2 separate regions of the Homo sapiens genome follow, and region 2 is linked to region 1. Evidence: promoter capture Hi-C in 16 types of primary human blood cells and fetal thymus (Javierre and others, 2016). All regions are on one chromosome and are shown on one strand. Each heading gives the region's core, a stretch centred on a gene start or on the middle of the fragment in contact. The rest is flanking DNA. Distances are from core to core; before and after follow the strand shown.

Evidence for each region. The method cuts DNA at HindIII sites, captures the fragments that hold promoters and counts their contacts. A CHiCAGO score of 5 or more calls a contact.
Region 2: a contact is called between a fragment that was not itself captured here and the fragment with the promoter of SMIM3 in region 1, in 6 of 17 cell types (M2 macrophages, megakaryocytes, neutrophils and 3 more). The highest score is 7.9, in M2 macrophages.

Annotation. Positions count from the first base shown.
Region 1 is chr5:150,777,362-150,780,332 of GRCh38, forward strand. It overlaps SMIM3 (small integral membrane protein 3), which reads left to right and starts at 1,396. Exons shown (of 2, transcript NM_032947.5): 1 at 1,396-1,611. LOC124901110 reads right to left here. Exons shown (of 2, transcript XM_047417995.1): 1 at 2,546-2,971; 2 at 1-2,190. The coding sequence starts at 1,760. The coding sequence ends at 1,119. RefSeq lists a silencer at 1,291-1,480 and an enhancer at 1,918-2,779. The HindIII fragment of the contact is 6,508 bases long and covers 1-2,971 here.
Region 2 is chr5:150,546,626-150,549,683 of GRCh38, forward strand. It overlaps NDST1 (N-deacetylase and N-sulfotransferase 1), which reads left to right. Exons shown (of 15, transcript NM_001543.5): 12 at 1,593-1,763; 13 at 3,053-3,058. Among named protein-coding and RNA genes, the nearest start is that of NDST1, 40 kb to the left of the region's middle. RefSeq lists an enhancer at 1-367. The HindIII fragment of the contact is 5,123 bases long and covers 1-3,058 here.

The DNA.
Region 1 (2,971 bases), core at 146-2,645:
CTGGCTCCAGGCCTGAGCTTCTGCCTTGTCCCAGAGGGAAGCCAATGTTCACAGCAGGGCACATGGAGTTACCAGTTGTCCACCCAAAGGAACTCTCATCCCCTTCACTAACCAGGGAAAATGTCATATTAAGATTGTCCTCCTGTTGCAGTGAGCCGAGATCATGCCACTGCACTCCAGCCTGGGCGACAGAGCGAGACTCCGTCTCAAAAAAAAAAAAAAAAAAAAAAAAGATTGTCCTCCTTCAATCTTTTTTTACTATTAAATGAGAGCTTTGTATTAAACTATTCAGAATTGGGTTGTCCTTGTTTTTAGGTTCCCACACTATCTCTTTTGAATAAAACATGTTGTTGGGTGACAGCCCTTAGGGTTTTTCTCAAATCATTTCTCATGTGAATCCCCTTCATCCTCACTGTCCTTCCCTTAAGAAACTGGCGTGTGATAATGATGATTTAGAGGTCATTTCTGCTGACCTCATCCCTGAATCAGAGGAAACAGCATGGAGTAAGTTCTAAGTTCGGGGCCCACACCATATCAAATTTAGGCCTGGGGAAGGCAGTATGGCTCTTTCCAAACCCTCCAAAACACTACTGGGCTCCAAGACTGCTCAAGGTCTCACTGATAGTCAAGGCTTGTGCTCCTTTTTTTCAGAAGAGTAAGATTAAAGAAAACCACTGTGAATTAAAAAGTGTGGGTGCCAACATGGGACGGGAGTCCCCCCTCACTCCATGGATGACATAGAGGGGGCAGAAGATTACAGAATTGGCATTGTCCTGCGTGGAAGCTGGGCCACCCACAGTGGCGTGGGAAGCCTCTCAGATGCTGGATTCTAATGGGCTCTTGATCACCTTGGATTGGGCTATTTCATTGTTATCACAAAATAAACAGGATGCTCCAAGTCATGTTATGGCAGAGAACCAACCAGCTTCACACTGGTCCTCTAAACCAATCCTCACAACAGGACTGGGAGACAGGTGTTACCTTTCCCACTTTACAGAGAATGAAACAGAGTGGCAAAGCCTCCGAAGGACCCTACACTTCGGACATCGCAAAGCAGGATCTGAGTCCCGGCTCCTCTGTCCAAACCTACTTGCTAGGCTTTCTTTCCCATGTCTACTCTATAGCTGGAAAGGTCGTGGAGGACACATTTTAGGCCAACCCTCTCGGTTTACAATCCAGAGAGGGGAGACCCTCAGAAGCCAAGCGACATGTCCACGGCTACGCGGCGAGTGTGTGGCAACGTGGAAGGGGAGCCCGAGACGCCCTGGTCTCTCCCTTCTCTCGCAGGTTCCTTTCTCCCCGAACGCAGCCCGCAGGGGACGCTGGAGGAGGAGCTGAGCTGGAGTTGCCGGGGCCCCGGGACCGGGCGTTCCGGGGGCGGTCCCCAGCAGCCGCGCATTCCAGAGCCAGCAGCGCGTCCTGGCCGCTCCTGCGCTCTCCCGCCTCCCGGGGCTCGGAGGAGCCGGGGCACGTTCCAGGAGCTGCCTAGGGCTGAGGTTCCAGGCCTGGGGGTCGCTTCCAGCTGCCAGATCCCGTGCAGTCCTGGGGACCCTGAGAAGCACCGAGCCATCCCTGACCCAGGAACTTTCCGCAGACTCGCCGCCATCTGGGGTGAGTGGGGCCACCGGGGGATTGTTTGTGGGGCTCTGGCAGAGCGGAGCTCTTCGGATTCGCGACCTACCTCTAGTGCGGCCCCTTTCCCCGGGCTCCCAACGTTCTTCTTTATGTCCGGTCTCTCCTCCCCATTTCTCCCTTTTCATCACTTTTGTATTTCTTGCCCTCACCCCCTCCTTTTTCTCCTGCTGTCAGCTCTTAAGTTCGAGCCTCCTAGTGCACAGAATTTTGGGCCTGGGGGAGGCGGAGCTTGGGTGGGCGAACCCCAGCCCCACTCGGAGACTGGCTTCTCTCCGGGTCCGCTGCCCTTGCCTTCTCGGGAAGCCTCCTCCTCGGGCAGACTGCCACCTCCTGGCTCTCCAGGCCCAGCGTCAGGGTTCAGCGCCCGGGCCTGAGCACCTGCTTGGGCGCTGCGCTGGGTTTGGGTCTTTGCACTTACCTGTCCCGCTTTTCTCGAGGCCCCGTGTAGAAGGCGCCAGGAGTTTGGAGTCAGGAGTGGCGGGTTCCAGCCCTGGTTCTGTCACTAACTGCTTCACCATCCTTGTTTTTCCATCAGTGAAATTGGGAAAACATTTTCTGCGTGCAGAAAGCAAAGGAGAAAGGACATGAGCAAAGTATCTTGGAGAGAAGGCTTCCTTCAAGCTCCCTCCTGCTGGTTAGCTGTCCCTTTCCTGAGGACGTAGTTGTTCCAGTTGCTGGTTGTTTTGCTCCCTAGTCTCCCCCATGCCAGTTTCTTGAGGGTAGGGACTGCCTGTCTATCGTCATCTCTGAGGCATTCTCAGCTCTTGGAGCAGGGCCTGGCTAACAGTAGGTGCTCCATACATATGTACTGAGTGAAAGGATGAAAGGTGTAACCCCCCCCGCCCCCCCCACAAATTGAAACAAACCTCAGGGGCTGTTATTCTGATTGAGGGCCAGGCTGGGCTCTTACTTATGCAGCTGCACTTGTTTCTTCTGGACCAGCTGGAATCCTGCTGCACCTGGGGGCTGAGGAGTCTCCGGTTCATCTGTGGTGAATACTAAGGTCCTCAAAGCTCCAGGGTGTGGTGGTGAAGGCTGCGCAATCACACAAGTATCAGAGATTCCTTGAACATCTGCTATGATGCGTGCTGCTACTGCAGTGGCCACATAGTTTGGAAGGATTGGGGATGCCTGAATTAGGTGGAGGTGGGAGCGGGAAGAACAGGTACTCTGGGGGTTAGGAGACCCTCTGAATTACCCTAATGGAGGCATTTCCCCTCTCTGGCCCTTGTCTTCCCTATCTGTAAAATGAAGACATGGGAGTGGAACAGATGTTTGTCTGTGGTTGAGCATGACATGCTCTTTGGTTTATGCAGGCCGCACAGCAGCCATCTAG
Region 2 (3,058 bases), core at 458-2,957, 230 kb before region 1:
CCTCTTCAGGCCTGGCCACTGTCATAGTTCCCACCCTGCTTTGAGGCTCTTTTCTCAGATGTGACAGTGGCTGTCTCCCGCCTGGGACCTTGCGGTCTCCCGCAGGGCTGGCACCTGCCTCCTCTTTGCTCCCATGGAAGTCTCTCCTCCTGCCACTCTCTGAGGCTGGTGAGGAAGCCCCTTCTTACTCTTGTTCTCTAGGGCTTCTGTTTATGCCCTGATGTCTGCTTTCCTGTGGCTTTTTCTTTAGGAGAAGAAAACCGAGAAACACTTGTCAAGTGTTTCTGTTTTCTGCCGTGCTGTGTGCCCCCGCCTCCTGGCGCTGTGCAGGGAATGGGCAGTCTGCTTTCATGGGGGAACGTAGGGTAGAGAGAGAGCCGCCACAGGTTGGGTCAGTCCCTGTTCTGCACTGACACTGCTGTACATCTGCACCTTACTGGAGAGTCACAGCTGGTTTCTAGAAGGCAGAGGAGGGGTTTCACGTTTGTGTCCCCTTCTCAAAGATTAGAAAACCAAGTTTCAGCAAGTTTCATGTGGTGGCATTTGAATCCAAGTCTTCTAAATCTAAGACCCTATTCCTTTTTCTGTCCATGATCAAGAGGGGTAAGGGATAGAAGGAGAAGGGAGACTCATTCTCCCCAGGAGGACCTGGGAAGATGTTGGAGGAGAGGAAGGGTGGGGGCCTGTCTCAGAAGGAGGTCGGGACGAGGAGGACGCTGCTGTGCACCATATTGCCCCAGCCCTGGGCTGTGTGTGATCCTCAGGGGAGGGGGTTGGCGGCTGGGGGATAGTGCCTGTCGCACAGGTGCCTGAGCTCTGGCTTTCTGGACTTAGTGAATTCTGCAGATTCGGACCTCCCATGGCATTATTTTAAGTGATTCAGACCAGCCAGTCTCCCTTTTATAGTTCTTTCCCAGTCCTTCTGATTTCCATAAAGGAGAAATGCTCACTTTAGTGCAAGTGGTCTTACGTCCTTTCTAACACTGTCAACCTCTGCTTTCAACAAAGAGAGCATGTTCAGGGCCTGTTGCACACATTTGTGTCTGGCTGGAGTTTGAGAACATTGTTTTTATTGCCATTTGTGAGTGGTTGCCTTCTATATATGACAACAGTGCAGCAGCGTGATCTTGGCTCACTGCAACCTCCACCCCCCGAGTTTAAGCGATTCTCGTGCCTCAGCCTTCCGAGTAGCTGGGACCACAGGTGTGCACCACCATGCCAGCTAATTTTTGTATTTTTAGTAGAGACGGGGTTTCGCCACATTGGCCAGCTGGTCTCGAACTCCTGACCTCAAGTGATCCACCCACCCCAGCCTCCCAAAATTCTGGGATTACAGGCATGAGCCACCATGCCTGGCATCAGGAAACCCTGATTTCGTCCAGTTCCCGTATTTCAAAGATGGAGAAGTTGGGGCTCTGGGACCAGTGGCTTCCCTTGACACTGGACACAGTGAGAGGCAGAGCCAGGACTCAGACCCAGAGCTCCTGGGTCCAGCTGAGGATCTTCTGGCCACCTTGCGGGCTGCTGTCCCTCTCAGGCCACTTCCTTTGTGTCCTCCAAGTGGCATGCTGACCCTCTTTCCTTGCCTGCAGCACCAGCGAGCCCATGACGACCCAGTGGCCCTAAAGTACACCTTCCATGAGGTGATTACCGCCGGCTCTGACGCATCCTCGAAGCTGCGTGCCCTCCAGAACCGCTGCCTGGTCCCTGGCTGGTACGCCACCCACATCGAGCGCTGGCTCAGTGCCTATCACGCCAACCAGGTAGCTGCTGTCCCTGACCCTTGTGAGGGCAGTCACAGTACTGGCTTGCTGTGGTTAGCGGAGAGCCTCCAACTCTTTCTCACCAGCCGTGGGGACAGATATGCCCTCCTTGGAGAGCTAGACCCTTGGGTCTATAAAAAGATTTTATTATTATTATTATTATTTTGAGACAGGGTCTCACTCTGTTGCCCAGGCTGGAGTGCAGTGGTGTGATCTCAGCTCACTATAGCCTCGATGTCCCGAGCTCACGCAATCCTTCCACCTCTGCCTCCTGAGTAGCTGGGACTACAGGTGTGAGCCACTGTACCCAGCTAATTTTATTTTTTTAAGAAATAAGGTCTTACTATGTTGCCCAGGCTGGTCTCAAACTCCTGGGCTCAAGCAGTCCTCCCTTGGTCTTCCAAAGTGCTGGGATTACAGGCATGAGCCACTGCACCTGGCCTAAAAAGACTGTAGACCTGTTTATCCCAAGGTTGATACATGAGAACTCCCCAAGCCTGTGTCCCATCACCACAGGCCCTGTAGCCCTAAAGGGACCCAGAAAGCCCTGAGGCAGGCAGGTGGGAGCAAGGAGACTGGGCGTGGTGATGGAGGGAGAGCCTGATCATACCAGGCTGTTTATGTATTTATTTATTTATTTAGAGACGGAGTCTCGCTCTGTCTCCCAGGCTGGAGTGCAGTGGCACGATCTTGGCTCACTGCAACCTCTGCCTCCCGGGTTCAAGCGTTTCTTCCACCTCAGCCTCCCAAGTAGCTGGAATTACAGGCATGCACCACCACGCCCAGATAATTTTTGTATTTTTAGTAGAGACGGGATTTCACCATGTTGGCCAGGCTGGTCTTGAACTCCTGACCTCAAGTCCTCTGCCCACCCCAGCATCCCAAAGTGCTGAGATTACAGGTGTGAGCCACCGTGCCCGGCCATGCCCAGCCATACCAGGCCTTTTAGGCAAACTTGCGGAGTGTTTGAGCAGGAGAGTGACATGGACTGGAAGCTCAGAGAGAGGCCAGAGAGGGATGTTTGTAGGGACCTGAGGGGCAGGCAGGGTTTGGTGAGAGCTTAAATTCTAGGAGAAATGGCATTGGGCAGCAGAAGCTGGTGGAAAGCAGGCGTGAGACCACAGAGGCCTGAGCTTGGGGATACCTGCCCTTCAACAGGGGAGGAGGAGCCAGTTCTAGAGGGTGCAGGGTCCCATATTTATAAGCAGGCCCATTCCTGCTGCCGTGGCTGTTGCCCTTGTTTGCCACCGAAGTCAAAGCAGGTCCCGATCCCCTTTCTCCCTTTCCAGATTCTG